Linked DNA regions of Homo sapiens: region 2 is linked to region 1. Evidence: promoter capture Hi-C in human tissues and cell types (Jung and others, 2019). All regions are on one chromosome and are shown on one strand. Each heading gives the region's core, a stretch centred on a gene start or on the middle of the fragment in contact. The rest is flanking DNA. Distances are from core to core; before and after follow the strand shown. Region 1 overlaps TMBIM6 (transmembrane BAX inhibitor motif containing 6). Region 2 holds the start of AQP2 (aquaporin 2).

Region 1 (3,084 bases), core at 585-3,084:
CTGCACGGACTCTGGAACCATGAACATATTTGATCGAAAGATCAACTTTGATGCGCTTTTAAAATTTTCTCATATGTAAGTGTTTTGACCTTGACTGGTTTTGTACTGCATTTCTTTTCATATCTCTTTGTCCCTTTTCTGCATTTATAACTTTTGTGTGTATAAGCTAACAAATTAACTTGGCCAGAATCCAGAGGACCTGATGAAAATGTCCAAATTCTACACGTTGCTGTGTGGTTATTGGAAAGGCATTTATTCTAGTTTGGGTACTGATTATTCATAATTTTGGGCATTTGGTCTTCCTCAGCATTTAAGGTTCTGTTAACCTATTTTCAAAATATTATTTTTTATTGTAATATGCTTTCCTAAAAGTATTTCAAACTATTTGTAACAGAACTTTTACATATTCCCAGGAAGGGAAAGAGAGAAATGATTCTTCTTAGCTTAAATATGAGATTGATCTGGGACTGATTGCTCTTATTCACATTCTTTTCTTAGAACCCCGTCAACGCAGCAGCACCTGAAGAAGGTCTATGCAAGTTTTGCCCTTTGTATGTTTGTGGCGGCTGCAGGGGCCTATGTCCATATGGTCACTCATTTCATTCAGGTAAGAACGATTTTCTCTCCTGGTTGCTGTGGTACAAATTACATTAGGAAAAAACCAGCTCAGCAAGGTGGTCCAAGGGACCCTGTTCCTCTCTTTAATCTTTATCAGTAGTTTAGGATTTAAACTCAGACATTAAATCAGGACATGTAAAGCCATTTTAATTTTCTGGCAACTGTGCCCCCTCTAGATACCGAAAAACAGAATGCCTTAACCTTGGCACTGAATGGTGTGCTGCTGACGTACAAGACCCCCACCCACTGAGTAGGCGCATGGCATGCATGCTGGGATTCTTTGGCACAGAAGCTTTTTTATCTTTTCCTCCATTCTTCCTTTACAAAACTCTGATTGTGTGATTAACTATCAGGAGAGGCAGGATTGAGATCTTTTTAAGGAATTGACCTGTTTTATTTTCCGATAACTGTTGTCTGCATGGTTGGGTAAAAACCTTCAACAATTTGTTTTCCTGTATTGAGAGAGAATCTGGGTTTGGTCAGCAGGAGTAGAAGGTACAGTTTGAGGAATAACCAGAAAGTTTGAAGACTCCCTAACATAGTCTTGTGCCTTTGTAGAGTATTCCTTTTAGCATAAATGTAGAGGTGGGCCTCTGTTGGCATTTGCCACTGTTGAGAACTATCCTTATGTTCAGGCATCTCCTGGCAGGGATTGTGTGAAAAATTACTTTAGACACTCAAAGGATAGGGCTTTGATCGCTTGAGTTTTAGGCAAGGTTAGCCCTTAAATAATTTAGTAAAATACAGTCAATCCTTGTTATTCACAGACTCTATATTTGTGAATTCACCTACTCATTAAAATTTGTAACCCCAAAATCAATACTCATGGCACTTTTTTTTTTTTTTTTGAGACAGAGTCTCGCTCTGTTACTCATGGCACTTTTTGCAGACAGTCACAGAGTGGTGAAAAAGTTGAGTCACCCTGCTGTTGCAGTGTTTTCAGCTGAGGTTGAACAAGACAGTGCTCTGCCTTCTTGTTTCAGTTCTCGTATTGTAAACAAATGTTCTTTTCATGGTCATTTAGTGCCACTTCCTTTGTATTTTTGTGCTTTTAATTGGTGATTTTGCTGGGTTTTTTGAGTGGAGGTCTTGTGGTGTCGTCCTGACTGGTCTCAAACTCCTGGGCTCAATTGATCCTCGCACCTCAGCCTCCCAAGTAGCTGGGAATACAAGCACATGCCACCATGCTTGGCTTAATTTTGCTGTTCAGAATGCAAACAGCATAGTGCTGAAGTGCTGTCTAGTATTCCTGAGTGCAGAAAGACCGTAATGTGCCTTATGAAGAAAATGTGTATATTAGATAAGCTTCATTCCGGCATGAGTTGTACTGCTGTTGTAACTGTGAGTTCAATGTTAAGGAATCAAAAATAATGTCAAATGAGGTGTCCTTAAACAGAAACACATATAAAAGCAAGGTATCTATTGATCATTTGATGAAAATGTTGTGACCTTAGGCTTGCAGGAACCTACCTACCTTTTATTTCCCTCAGGAACAAGGGTTTACTAATTCATTGTCCACTGTGATTTTATAACATAAACACTGAATAATGAGAATCAACTTCTTCCTTTAAAGGAAGGAAGGAACTTCAGTGTCTACGTCCATCCTTAATGATTTCTCTTTTTTCTAATGCCTATAGTTTTTCCCACTTGGCGTTTTTAAAAAAAGAAACACTTTTTTCTTACTACAAAGCTAATATGTGTTCATTTTAGAAAATTCAGAAAACAGACTAGCAATGAGAAGGAAGTATTTTAGAAACTTCCATAATCCCATCATCCAGAAATAACTACTGTTAACATTTTAGTACTTTGCAGTCTTCTGTATATGTATGTGTCTTGGTGTTTTGGTGTTTGGGGGTTTTGTTTGTTGGTTTTTGTTTTTTTGAGACGGAGTTTCACTCTTGTTGCCCAGGCTGAAGTGCAATGGCGTGATCTTGGCTTACTGCAACCTCTGCCTCCCTGGGTTCAAGCAATTCTCTTGCCTCAGCCTCCTGAGTAGCTGGGATTACAGGCGTGTGCCACCATGCCTGGCTAATTTTGTATTTTTAGTAGAGACGGGGTTTCTCCATGTTGGTCAGGCTGGTCTCGAACTCCTGATCTCAGGTGATTTGCCCACCTCGGCCTCCCAAAGTGCTGGGATTACAGGCGTGAGCCACCATGTTTTTTTTAAAGTGACCAAAGGGGGATCATTTCTATTTGTTCTACAGATGGAATGTACTTTAAGCACTTGTCACGTTTCATTCATCCTTTCTATTTTTTGGGCAAGACTCACTCATAGTTTGACTTGGGTAGTTGTACTGTAGTTGAAGGACTACGCAAGCCAGAAGAGCCTCCAGCATCCACCATGGTCCTAACTCTGTGCTTCAAGGCTTCTGGGTTATCTCCTCAGCCCCATCCCTGAGAAAACACTACTTTTTCTCCTGCCTCCAGGTTATAAGCAAATGTTAGGAAGTTCAGACGAGTGTTTGA
Region 2 (3,089 bases), core at 166-2,665, 200 kb after region 1:
CTCCCTGGGCCTATACTCACCCCTCCTGCCCACCCCACATCCCCATGATACAACACAAAGCGCTCCACTCCAGTCTCCAATCTCTCCCAGATTTCTGTTCCTGCGACTGTGACTTGCCCAGGGACCTGCTGGACAGGAGCTAGGGCAGGGTGCAGAAGCCCGTCCTTCTGTCCCCACTCTGAGCCTGACCCTGCTGTGAATCCCCAGGAGAGGGAGCGAGGCTGGAGGGATTAGGGAAGGGCCAGTGAGTGGGGCTGGGGAAACTTCTAGACTTGAACGCCTCCAGGACCCCAGTGGCCACAGCAGCACTGATAGCAGGAGGCAGCACTGCCCAGATGCTGAGCTGAGTGGGCACCAAGGCCAGAGAGCTGCTTATCAGGCATCACAGCCGCCCCGAGCCTGCACAGCTCACTGCCCCACAGAAATGTCTTTCTCCTGTGGCCAGAGCGGCCCTGAGCTCCTCAGGGTTTCTAGGACCTGTCACAGCTTCTGGGACCCCAACAAATGAGTGTGCAAAGACCTGTTCTCCTCAAAGTGCAAATAATACTGTAAGTAAGGGCTGATATTCATTGACCACCTACTGTGGACGAGGCGCTGCTCTGAGCACTTGACATACATTGTTTCATTCAATCCAAACCCCAATCCACTAGGTCAGTTTTATTCTCCCCATTTTACAGAGAAAGACAAGAAAGGTTAAGTCACATAGATGGAACAGGCTGATGCCAGAATGGACACCCTCAGCTTCCTCAGCCGCCCCAGGTTGACTCCATCACCAAGGGCCAGGGTCCCAGTGCCCCCAGGCTCTAGGAGCTGCTGTTTGGCTGGGGCTCCCAGGAGAAGGTGAAGCTTAATGATTTATGGGTGATTAGCTGCAAGAATGCAAGCACAGAAGACACAAACCTTTATGCCTTGGAAATTTGTCACAAGCCAACCAGTTGTTTTCCATCCCTGTGAAGCAGGAATAATTGGAGGTCTGACAGAAGAACTTCCCAGTTACCAGAAGGAGCAGCACTCATGTTCTCTCTTAGTTTTGTGTGAGGTGTTGCCCCTGCCTTGGTCAACAGTTTGAGTCAGAGAGATGGGGGCCGGGCACAATCCCCACCAGACGTTCCCATTCACAAGACCCTGTGGGGGCTGGGAGACGCCCTGGGGCAGCAGCCCTGGGGTAACCAAGGGAACAAACACGGAAAACCAGGGACGTCAGTCCTTATCTGGAGCTCATTAAATGGGGAACATTAGTCAGCTGTGAAGGCCAAGATAGGGTGATAGGCCTGTGGGTGGGCTGGGATGGGGCATGGGGGCAGAGGCCGCCATGGAGGAGAAGAGGTATTGGCCTCAACGACTCCACCTCCCCGCCACGTGCCCAGATCCGGGATGGAAGGACCCTATAAATGCCCACAACCCAGCCTCCCCAGAGGCCTTGAGAAAGAGAGCGATAGAGTGCGAGAGCGAGTGCCCGGAGCATCCTGGCCCTGAGACAGCTGGGCCAGCCCCGCAGGGCTCTGCAGCATGTGGGAGCTCCGCTCCATAGCCTTCTCCAGGGCTGTGTTCGCAGAGTTCCTGGCCACACTCCTCTTCGTCTTCTTTGGCCTCGGCTCTGCCCTCAACTGGCCACAGGCCCTGCCCTCTGTGCTACAGATTGCCATGGCGTTTGGCTTGGGTATTGGCACCCTGGTACAGGCTCTGGGCCACATAAGCGGGGCCCACATCAACCCTGCCGTGACTGTGGCCTGCCTGGTGGGCTGCCACGTCTCCGTTCTCCGAGCCGCCTTCTACGTGGCTGCCCAGCTGCTGGGGGCTGTGGCCGGAGCCGCTCTGCTCCATGAGATCACGCCAGCAGACATCCGCGGGGACCTGGCTGTCAATGCTGTGAGTAGCCACAACTTTGCCATCCACAAGGGGCAGGTCCTGGGGAATCCCTTGTAAAGGATGAGATGGGAGGGATGGGCTCTGGGTGATGTAGGGAGAGAGATGGAGACAGAGGCAGAGAGAGAGGCTGGAGCCAGGAACACAGCCACCATAGGAGGGTCAGGATGAAAGGAGCAATGATACCAGAGCAAAGCAGGATGCAGACAGACTGCTGGCTTCTTCCACCCTGACCGTCGTGCAGGAAGAGCCTCATCCAGGTTTCTGTTGGACTCAACGCCTACATTACAGTGAAGACAGGGCTATACCTCAGCAGGGGTTGGTGTCCCGAGCAGACATGCTTTCCAAGCTGCGGGGAGCCTTGGAGTGATCATCACAGGGTTCTCAAGAGAGAAGAGGGGCCCAGCATTTCTTCTGCTTTGAGGGTTTGCAGGTCCCGTGGCAGGTGCTCCTTACAGGCCAGGCACGGACACACCACAGCCCTGCAAGCAGCAATGGGCATACTCACTTCTCCAAACCTTGAGGAGGTCCCCGGAGCCCATAAGCTGGCTGCTGATTACATGATACAGGCGCTAACTGGGCCCCGTGGGCCCTTTGGGAGCTGAGGGTGGTGCCACAGTCCCTTCCCCCATGTCCCACCCACTTCCCCTCTCAAGTCTGTGTGGGCCCTGTGAATCCAAGGCCCATGAATGTGGAGGAATGACCTGTGCCCCCAACAGATCAACACTCACTCTGTACCCCCATCCTAAGCCAGGACAGTGAGTGCCTCTTTTGTGCTTGTTTCCGGTAGTTCCCGGCCTTTTCCATCCTTGAGCCACTGGACAAGAGTCCTGATGTCTTTGATGAGTCCCGCACAATCTCTGTGGGCGCCCCCTTCTCTGCACAAGTGGCCCTTCCTCATCTGTGGGACAGAGGTATCCCAATTAGGGAACTTCTCTGCTTTGTTTTGTTTTGTTTTTGAGATGGAGTCTCACTCTATTGCCCAGGCTGGAGTGCAATGGTACAATCTCAACTCACTGCAACCTCCACCTCAGGCCATTCTCTTGCCTCAGCCTCCCATGGGATTACACGCCTGTAATCCCAGCTAATTTTTGTATTTTTAGTAGAGACAGGACTCGCCACGTTGGTAAGGCTGGTTTCAAACTCCTAACCTCAAGTGATCCACCCGCCTCAGCCTCCCAAAGTGCTGGAATTACAGGCATGAGCCACCACACCCAGCCTCT

Evidence for each region. Contacts are between HindIII fragments. The study calls those that stand out against the background at their distance.
Region 2: a contact is called between the fragment with the promoter of AQP2 here and a fragment that was not itself captured in region 1, in 2 of the 25 tissues and cell types used here (IMR-90 fibroblasts and bladder).

What each region holds. Positions count from the first base shown.
Region 1 is chr12:49,752,475-49,755,558 of GRCh38, forward strand. It overlaps TMBIM6 (transmembrane BAX inhibitor motif containing 6), which reads left to right. Exons shown (of 10, transcript NM_003217.3): 2 at 1-75; 3 at 499-607. The coding sequence starts at 20. Among named protein-coding and RNA genes, the nearest start is that of TMBIM6, 12 kb to the left of the region's middle. RefSeq lists an enhancer at 1,377-1,466. The HindIII fragment of the contact is 5,198 bases long and covers 1-3,084 here.
Region 2 is chr12:49,949,322-49,952,410 of GRCh38, forward strand. AQP2 (aquaporin 2) reads left to right here and starts at 1,416. Exons shown (of 4, transcript NM_000486.6): 1 at 1,416-1,869. The coding sequence starts at 1,510. It overlaps AQP5-AS1 (AQP5 and AQP2 antisense RNA 2), which reads right to left. Exons shown (of 3, transcript NR_110591.1): 2 at 2,598-2,767; 3 at 2,191-2,348. The HindIII fragment of the contact is 7,583 bases long and covers 1-3,089 here.